2 separate regions of the Homo sapiens genome follow, and region 1 is linked to region 2. The links are contacts of gene promoters, found by promoter capture Hi-C in blood cells and fetal thymus (Javierre and others, 2016). All regions are on one chromosome and are shown on one strand. Each heading gives the region's core, a stretch centred on a gene start or on the middle of the fragment in contact. The rest is flanking DNA. Distances are from core to core; before and after follow the strand shown.

What was found. Contacts are between HindIII fragments. The CHiCAGO score rates a contact against its expected background, and 5 or more counts as called.
Region 1: a contact is called between a fragment that was not itself captured here and the fragment with the promoter of NDUFA10 in region 2, in 1 of 17 cell types (total B cells). The highest score is 5.1, in total B cells.

Annotation. Positions count from the first base shown.
Region 1 is chr2:240,131,235-240,135,504 of GRCh38, forward strand. COPS9 (COP9 signalosome subunit 9) reads right to left here. Exons shown (of 3, transcript NM_001163424.2): 2 at 2,699-2,771. Among named protein-coding and RNA genes, the nearest start is that of COPS9, 2.9 kb to the right of the region's middle. The HindIII fragment of the contact is 2,067 bases long and covers 1,522-3,588 here.
Region 2 is chr2:240,023,544-240,027,699 of GRCh38, forward strand. It overlaps NDUFA10 (NADH:ubiquinone oxidoreductase subunit A10), which reads right to left and starts at 1,799. Exons shown (of 10, transcript NM_004544.4): 1 at 1,684-1,799. The coding sequence starts at 1,758. RefSeq lists a silencer at 1,726-1,985 and an enhancer at 1,794-2,623. The HindIII fragment of the contact is 3,872 bases long and covers 1-3,080 here.

The DNA.
Region 1 (4,270 bases), core at 1,305-3,804, 110 kb after region 2:
TCAGTTTCAGCCAACCAGGGCTCGTACATGTAGTCCAAGGGGAGAGTGTTGGCTAGAGTGCTTTCTAGCTTTCATTTAAAAGACAATCCTAAGAAAATGCATGCAGGGCTGTTCTGAGTCCCACGGACACCACCGCACAGCCACAACTCAGCACTCAGGACACGCCAGTGCCGTGTCTGCACCCACGAGTGCACGGGCACCCAAGATGCTGCCCTCGCTGCCGGGGCCGGGGAGAGATGAAGCTGGGAGGCACGTGCTGGGTCCTTGAGAGCAGAGGGAAACCAGCCGGCTGCCGCTGTGAGCATGAGAAAGCCGGGCTAGGCTGCAGAAAGGTGAAGCCTCCAGTAAGGGAGCGTGAATGATACTCAAGCCTGAGAAACACCTGCTAAGGCCCATTCTCACTGGAAGAAACGCAGCAAACACGTAGTGCCCTGCTTTGGGTGATCAAAATCAGGCCCCCCAGGAAAGATTTTGTCCTTCTGTTTAGTCTTCTGTGTTTTTCAAATTCCCTACTACAGGCAATCATCACTTTCACAATGGGAGGTGAAAATACAACTAAAAGCCCACCCACATGTACTGCGCACTGAAAATGTGCAGTATGAATTATGAACTAGAAAGAGGAGGTTCAACTCCTGGAGGGTCAGAGCGAAGAGAAAGGGGCCTGCTGGCACCACAGCATCCAGCCTTCCTGGGGAGGGTGGCGTCCCTGAGGCATCTCTGGATACTGCAGAGGGTCCCGACGCTCCCCAGCCACACTGATGCACCCCCACGTCCTCACTGCCTCCCGACTGCTGGTTGTGGTTCGCCGCTAGGAGCACTTTTGCGCAGTCCTGGGCCTGGCTGACTCCACACCTTCCGACCTCTGCTCTGCTGCCCCCTCTGGAGAAACCTCCCTCTGCAGTGCTCCCAGAAACAATGCCGTCCACGCTTTGCCAGGGCTCTTGTCACAGTCCAGCCCCTGCCTGCTGACTTGTCTGGACCCACAATTTTGTAAGACATGGCGAGGGAAGAGAGAGTGTCTCTTTCGTGGCTAGAACCCTGGTGCCCAGGGTGTAACAGCCCAGCAAACCCATCTGTTTGACGAGTAAAAAGGACTTAGCAAAAGCCTCATCCACAGCCCACAGAGGTCTCTCAAAGTAAATGGCTTCTTGAACACATGGGGTTGTCACAACCTGATGGGACAGTGAGTGCTTTGTGAACTTAGTGGGTGGGCAGGCAGGGGACACAGAGCTCTCCTGCGTCCCCTCCCTGACCGGCCGTGGCTCAAAGGCAGACACGCGCCCACAATGCTCAGGTTGCTGGGCGCTCACCTGACGGGTAGGACCTGGGTCCCTCTCAGAGATGCTTTCCCGTCAGGATTCAAGGGCTGACTCTGGAAGTCATGTGAACTCAAACACTAGAACACAGCAATCGCCTCTAACCAATGGGCTGGCAGAGGATAAATGGGACTTTGAAGGAGATCATCAAAATGCAAGCGTGTGGTGCCAGCATTAGCAACTGCCCAATCCTGCCCACGTGAAAAGCTTCAAAGTCGCCCTGGTGAGCTGGTGTTTTTGCAAAGCAGCTTTGGAGAGCGCTCTGCAGCTTTGTACAATTTGTTCCCTCTGAAGGCAACACCCTTCTCCCACCTCGCTCTGGCATAAAGAATTGAAATAAATGCTATTCAGTTCTCCAGGCTCATCTCAAATGTCATCTGCCTCAGTTCTGACTCCAGTTGGTAGCAGTAAGAATGCTGCCTCAGGGGCATGGCCAGGCACCCTGGGAAAGCCTGCACCCCAACTCAGCAGCTTGGCTGCTCCCCTCAGGCAATGGCTGCCTGACAGTAAGCCTGATGAAGCAGCAGGGACTCAGGATGGCAGGGGGTCTCTGGTAAATTAGAAACCGATGTGGCAAGCTCAGGTCCTAGCTGTTAACTAGTAACAAGAGCTTTCTGTAGAGAAAAGCACCATGGATTAAACCAGGATGAAAAATGCCACCTCACTCTCTGGAGTAAGAAACCTATCTTATTTACTTATTATTTGAACCCTTAGTAAAGGTTAATATCATCTATAGGAATAAGGCCTGAAGAAATCAGAAGAGAATGAGAAATATTCCCTCTAGCAGGTCTGAAGATGTTACAGAAAATTTGCTTTTCACTGTTCATTTGGTTTACCCATGTTTTTGGTAACTAGCACTGAAGCCCTTAAATCAAGAGGAAAACACATCCTGCGTCCTGATTTCAGAGCTGGGCAAGAGCTGGAGTATGGCTGTCCCTCTGCAAAGGCAGCTGAGGGCATGAGAACCCAGGCAGGCAAACACAGGTGGGCTGGGAGAGGAAAGGAAACCGGCTACCCGGAGAGGGCGGAGACAGGGAGACAGATGGGGTTCCTATGGCCGTGTGTGGGGTGAGGGCCCAGACCTGGCTACAGTCTGAGGTGTCCGCAGGCACATGTAACACGCATGCCAGAGCTCAAACTCAACTACTGGGCTGCAAGCTGGGAACAATTTCATGCTACTTTTCTCCTGAAAAATAAGGCTGCCTGCCAGTGGCCGCAGCCCGTGTCATCGCTCCACAGAGGCTGCACTGCATTCTGAGAGGAGCGCAGGGGCTCTACCACCTTATGATCCAAATTATTCATGTCACCAAGTTGCTTCACTGCCTTCACCTAGAGAAGAAATATTCAGATTAAATCTGGCATCCCATTCCAAGCATCCTTACCGTTAAAAAAGTCTGCATGAACGGCCTTTTCATTGGCTGCCAAGTCCATCAAGAGCCCGGTGCTGCCTCCCGCCTGGGGAATGGAAAGGCAAGGTTATGTCAGGTGCGTTTTCCGAAAGAACAGGTGATAAGTGCATTGCAGGGCCACTACCCCCACAAAAAAAGAAGATGGGTGAGGGGAAACAGGCTCAAGTTGGAGTCAACATTTTAGTTCCAGACACAGGAATGTGTATTGGGGGGAGGGGGAGGAATTCAAAGGAATGATTTTTAAGGTCTCTCAAGGGCTTCTGTTCCTTGATTCCTGTCTGCCTTTAAAAAAGAAACCTACCACTGACCTAAGCACCACTACTTCTCTGTGCCCCTCAAGGAGAGCTTTCCGATCCCTCGCCGGACATCGCCAGAGGCCACAAACATGCGAAATTGAGCCCATCGCCTCCACTCAGGATCCCTTCCCTCTCTCTTCTGGGAATGAAACCACTTCCCCGAGGAAACTGACCTGCTCTGCCTCTGAGGTTCTGGTGCCCCGCTGCTATCATGGACCGTCCACTGCCACAACTCCACGGCAGTGGAAAAACCATGTCACAACCCAAGCTGGGCAATCTGAAGCCCTCAGGATTTTGGGTCCTGTTTAGAGTCAACCGGTGACAGAGGGAGCAGATTCCTCTGACAGCAGCACCCTGGACAGCTGGCCACAGGTCCTGCTGCTGCCCTGGCCCCAGCATTCACAAGGCCGCTTGCTCAGACCTGCCCTGATCCCCACATAGCTGCATGCCCTTGTTCCCTTTCAGACACTCTCAGAAAAGCCAGGACACTCAGTCTCCTCCCCTGGCTTCTCAGCCACCCTCCCTGTCCCCATCAGCACAGTAAGCCACGCGCATTCTACCACTTGAAGCTTGTCCCTACCTCCATCTGCCTCATTCACACCCTCTTCAACTCTCCTGTTCTCCCTGCTCTCATTTTTCTACCCTCTCACCCGTAAATGCTGCCACCCTACAGAGCAAGTCGGAGCCTCTCACTCCCCACTGTAAAGCCCTCCGGTGGCTCCACATCGCCTAGGACTGTGAAGCCTAGGACTGTAAAACAGGACTGAGAAGCCTGGGTTTAATGGAAGTGCTTCGGGAGCGGGGTGCACAGAGCCACCCTCTTTAGCATGGTTCCAGATGGTTTCACGATCTGGGTAGGGAGAGAGTCCCTACCCACTGTCTCCCCTCTCTCTGGCACTGCACGCTCAACCATGTTAAACGACACAACATTCCCTTCCCTTGGTGAGCCAGTCGGCATCCCCCAACCCAGGGCTCTGCTCCTGCCGGGCCTTCATCCCCCACTACCTGGCAAACACCAATGTGTCCCCCAGCATTTGGCCACAGAGTCGACTCCTCAGCTGTACCTTTGCTGAGCCCCCTCAAAGCCCTGAGGGTCCATCCGTCGGTGCGCCTTCGGCTTTCTATGACACCTGGTATTTGCAATCAGCCGCTCTGCCATGCTATTACCTCCACAAGCACAAGGGCTGCCTCTGACCACCTCTGCAGCCCCTAAGCTTTGAGAAAGAGCACATAAGGCCCTGACATGTAG
Region 2 (4,156 bases), core at 549-3,048:
AAGGATGCTCAATGAAGTATGATGTAACACCAAAAATGCAAATAGAAACCCTTAAATGTCCAACAACGGAGGAATAGTTAAACAAAATTAAGGCATATCCATATTATGGAATACTAAGTACTCAGAAAAACACAAAAATATTAAAATACTTTATAGTGAAATTTAAATAAAACAGGAGAATATGAAATATCAAGATATTTTTCGATCTTGATTTGATAACTGAAGAGTAAGGAAGAAACAAGTTACAAAACAAGGCAAAGCAGACAACCCAATTTAAAAATGGGCAAAAGATGTAAACACCTCTCGCAAATGAAATTAACGCAGATAGCAAATAAGTATATGAAAAGATGAACACTGTATATCATGAGATATTCCAAAGTTGAAACAAGATACCACTACGCAGCTATCAGAATGGATAGCAATCCAAAGTAACCGACAGCCCCGCATGCTGGCGAGCACGCAGAGCAACAAGGAGAGCCTTCACTTCTGGTGGGAGTCAAATGGCACAGTCACTCTGGAAGATGGCTTGGCAGCTTCTTAGAAAACTAGTCTTACTACATGAGTAATCGCTCTTCCAGGTATTACCCAAATGATATAAAAATGTATTTCCAAAAAGAAATCTGCATGTACACGATTACAGCAGCTTTATTCATAATTGCCAAAAACTTGAAGCAACCAAGATGCCCTTCAATTGCTGAATGAATTGAAGTACATCCATGCAATGAGATATTACTCAGTGATTAAAAAGAAATGAGTTACCAAGCCACGAAGACATAAGTGAATCTTACATAGATATTTCCAAGTATTCAAGGCGTCTGAAAAGGCAATATATTGTATGATTCTAATTATATGACATTCCAGAAAAGGCAACTATGGAAATGTTAATGAGATCTGTGGTTGTCAGGGGTTGGAGAAAAAGAAGGGTTTAATAGGTAAAGCAGAGGGGAATTTTTTAAGGCAGTGAAGCTACTCTGTACGAACCTATAATGGTGGAGACATGCTATTACACACGTGTCAAAACCTATAGAACCTTATAGCACAAAGAAAAAATCCATAGAACCTTATAGCACAAAGAATGCGCTCAATGTATGCACATTTTAAAAAACGCATTAGGTAGAAGGATCCCAAGATGTAAGGCAGAATGTGACAAAGCAATCCAACTGTGTTACAAATGTATGAAACGATTTCACTGAAGAAGGTGGGGGCAAAATGCTAAGAAATGAGAGTAGTCAGTCAGAGTAAAGGCAAAAGGAAGCGGACACAAGCACTGAACTCCGTGTCTGCTCAACATGGCATCACCCAAGCACCCAGCAGGGCCCGACCTTTAAACGGCTCTTGACAGGGCTGCTACGTGAATTATCTAATGACAAGCGCGTGTGCCCCCGGCCTGCCACCTGCACACGGGCCTCCCGCATCAGGGCAGCCTCGGGGCCCTGATCACCTCCGCGCTCCAGCGTTTTGCTTAAAGCTGAGATAAAATGGCCTGGAGAAGCTCGTGGCCCCCTGAGGTCTGTCCACGACCAAAGACCAAACAATTCCGGAGGCAGGAGGGGTCCCCCAAACCCACCCGGAGAGCGACCTGGGAGCCGCCGCCAGAGGCCGGGGGAGATGTGGAACTGCTCCCCACCCCGCCACCCCGCCACCCTGCCACCCCGCCACCCTGCCACCCCGCCGCCCGCTCACCACGCGCTGGGCGCCCGCCGCCACGACCCGGGCGGACGCGGACGTCGCTGCCAGCTTCAGGAGCCGCAAGGCCATGGCTACCCGGTCAGCTCAGGATCAAGGACCCAAGGGGACGCGGTCGCGACGGGGCCCTCTCTCGCGGCCGGCGCGCTGCCGTGACGTCACGGCCGGGGTGCCCGCGGCGCCTGTCGGGAACCTTCCAGGGGGCGGGGCCGCGCCGAGGCCCTCGGGGGCTTCCGCGGAGACAGCCAGTGCGCTGCCAGGGTCCTGCGGGTTGGGGCGAGGGCCGAGAGGTGGGAGTTGGAGGTGAACGTGGGGGCAGCATGCTGGCTGCCCGGCCCCTGCCTGGGTTCTGAGTTGCTGCGGTGTCGCGGGAGCTGAGGCCGCCCAGGGCGTGGAGCGACTTCTGCGTCTCGTCCCAGGGTCCTGTGCTCCCCGCAGAATCCCCCAGGCGCGGTGTGGACGTCAAAGCGACCTCCTAGAGAACATTCCTAGCTCTCAGAACGTTCTCGCTGGGGAGGGAAAGTGGAAAAAGAGGGGGCGAGGAGCGGAGGGACGGGGTGGGACCCCTGTCGCGGGGCGCCTGTCAGGGAGAGGGACCTGGCAAGGCCGGCCTGGGTCGCCTCCGGAGCTGAAGGCTAAGTGGTCTCATCCAGGGGACCTGCTGTGAACACATTGAATAGCATAGAAAACAAAAGCACACGCTCCAAGTCCATCTCTTTTTTTTTTTTTTTTTTTTTTTTTTTTTTTTTTTTTTTTTGAGGCAGAGTCCCGCTCTGTCGCCCAGGCTGGAGTGCGGTGGCGCCATCGCGCTCACTGCAAGCTCCGCCTCCCTGGTTCACGCCATTCTCCTGCCTCAGCCTCCCGAGTAGCTGGGACTACAGGCGCCCGCCGCCACACCCGGCTAATTTTTTGTATTTTTAGTAGAGACGGGGTTTCACCATGTTAGCCAGGATGGTCTCGATCTCCTGACCTCGTGATCCACCCGCCTCGGCCTCCCAAAGTGCTAGGATTACAGGCGTGAGCCACCGCGCCGGCAAGTCCATCTCTTAAAATGTGCTCCCGTCAGGACCTGGGCTCTGGGCTCCACGAAGGAGCCTTGCATGTGAGGTTTCCTTCCAAGTATGCCTGCTGTTGGGAAGGGTTTTTATAATCTTTTGTGTTCCCCAGGCTTTTTGTTCTTAACCCCTTAAATATTCTTTAACTTTGTTTTCAACTTTTCAGAAATGATCATGCGATTGTAAAACAGTGGGAATGCAGCTGTGTAAACTACGGCCGGTTCTATGGATGTTTCTATAATTGAAGAATTGCTTTTTGTCAAAAATACGGATTCCCGGTCCCCAACGCAGGAGGGTCTGGTTTTTAGATCCTGGAGGGCACCTGAAATCCATTTAACAAGCTTTAGGGTTCATGTCTGCTGTTTTTTGCCTTGTTTCCTTTGCATTTTTTTTTTTTTTTTTTTTTTGTGCCTTCCAATGGATACAGTACATTTTTTTAGAATTCCATCTTGATTTACTGATAATGTCTTGGGAAATATCATTATGTATAGTTTTCGTAGTGGTTCCTCTAGGTATCACAGCACGCAGACGTAACTTCTCACAACCTGTTTGCGTGGATGTTTTGTTGTACCTGAGCGAGTTAGAAAAACACCACCTTTGAGACGAATTAAGAGTCCTTTATTAGCTGGCGACCGAGAGACGGCTAACGCTCAAAATTCTCTCAGCCCCGAGGAAGGGGCTTGATTAACTTTTATACCTTGGTTTAGGAAGGGGGGGGGGTCTAGTTAAAACAATTTTACAGAAGTAAAGTAGTCAAAAAGTTAAAAGGGTAAATGGTTACAGGAAAGTAAACAGTTCAAGGTGCAGGGGCTTTAAGACTATTACAAGATGATAGACCCGGGGCTTTGGGCGTTATCAATCGGACAAATTCCTGGGAACTGCGGATGTAGCTTGCCACAGTATCTTACCAGTTAATTGCATTCTTGGATGTGGTGGGAGTCAGCCTGCACAAGTTAAGTCCTTGAGAAAGGGGCTGCCAGTGAAAGAGCCAAGATGGAGTCTGTCTGGCTCTCTTAGCTAAGGGAGAGTCAATTCAGGTGGAAACAGGGCTAGGTGATTAAAGGAAAAGGGAGAGTCTGAAAACAGTTAGTAAAAACCAGGTTGGGCATTACAGTTTTACTGGTTCAAGGGAAGTATTACTATATACTTCCCCGTCCCTCCGCTTCTCGCCCCCCTTTTTCCGTTTTCCCTCCCCAGCTAGAACGTTCTGAGAGCTAGGAATGTTCTCTAGGAGGTCGCTTTGACGTCCACACTATATTAGACAGCATGAAAATAACTTCAGACCCCAATAGACCAATATCTCTCGTGAACTTAGACACAAAAATCCTTAACGAAATGTTAGCAAATTGAATCCAACACTATATGAAATGAATCATACACCACAACCCAAGGTGGTTTATTCAGAAGATGCAAGG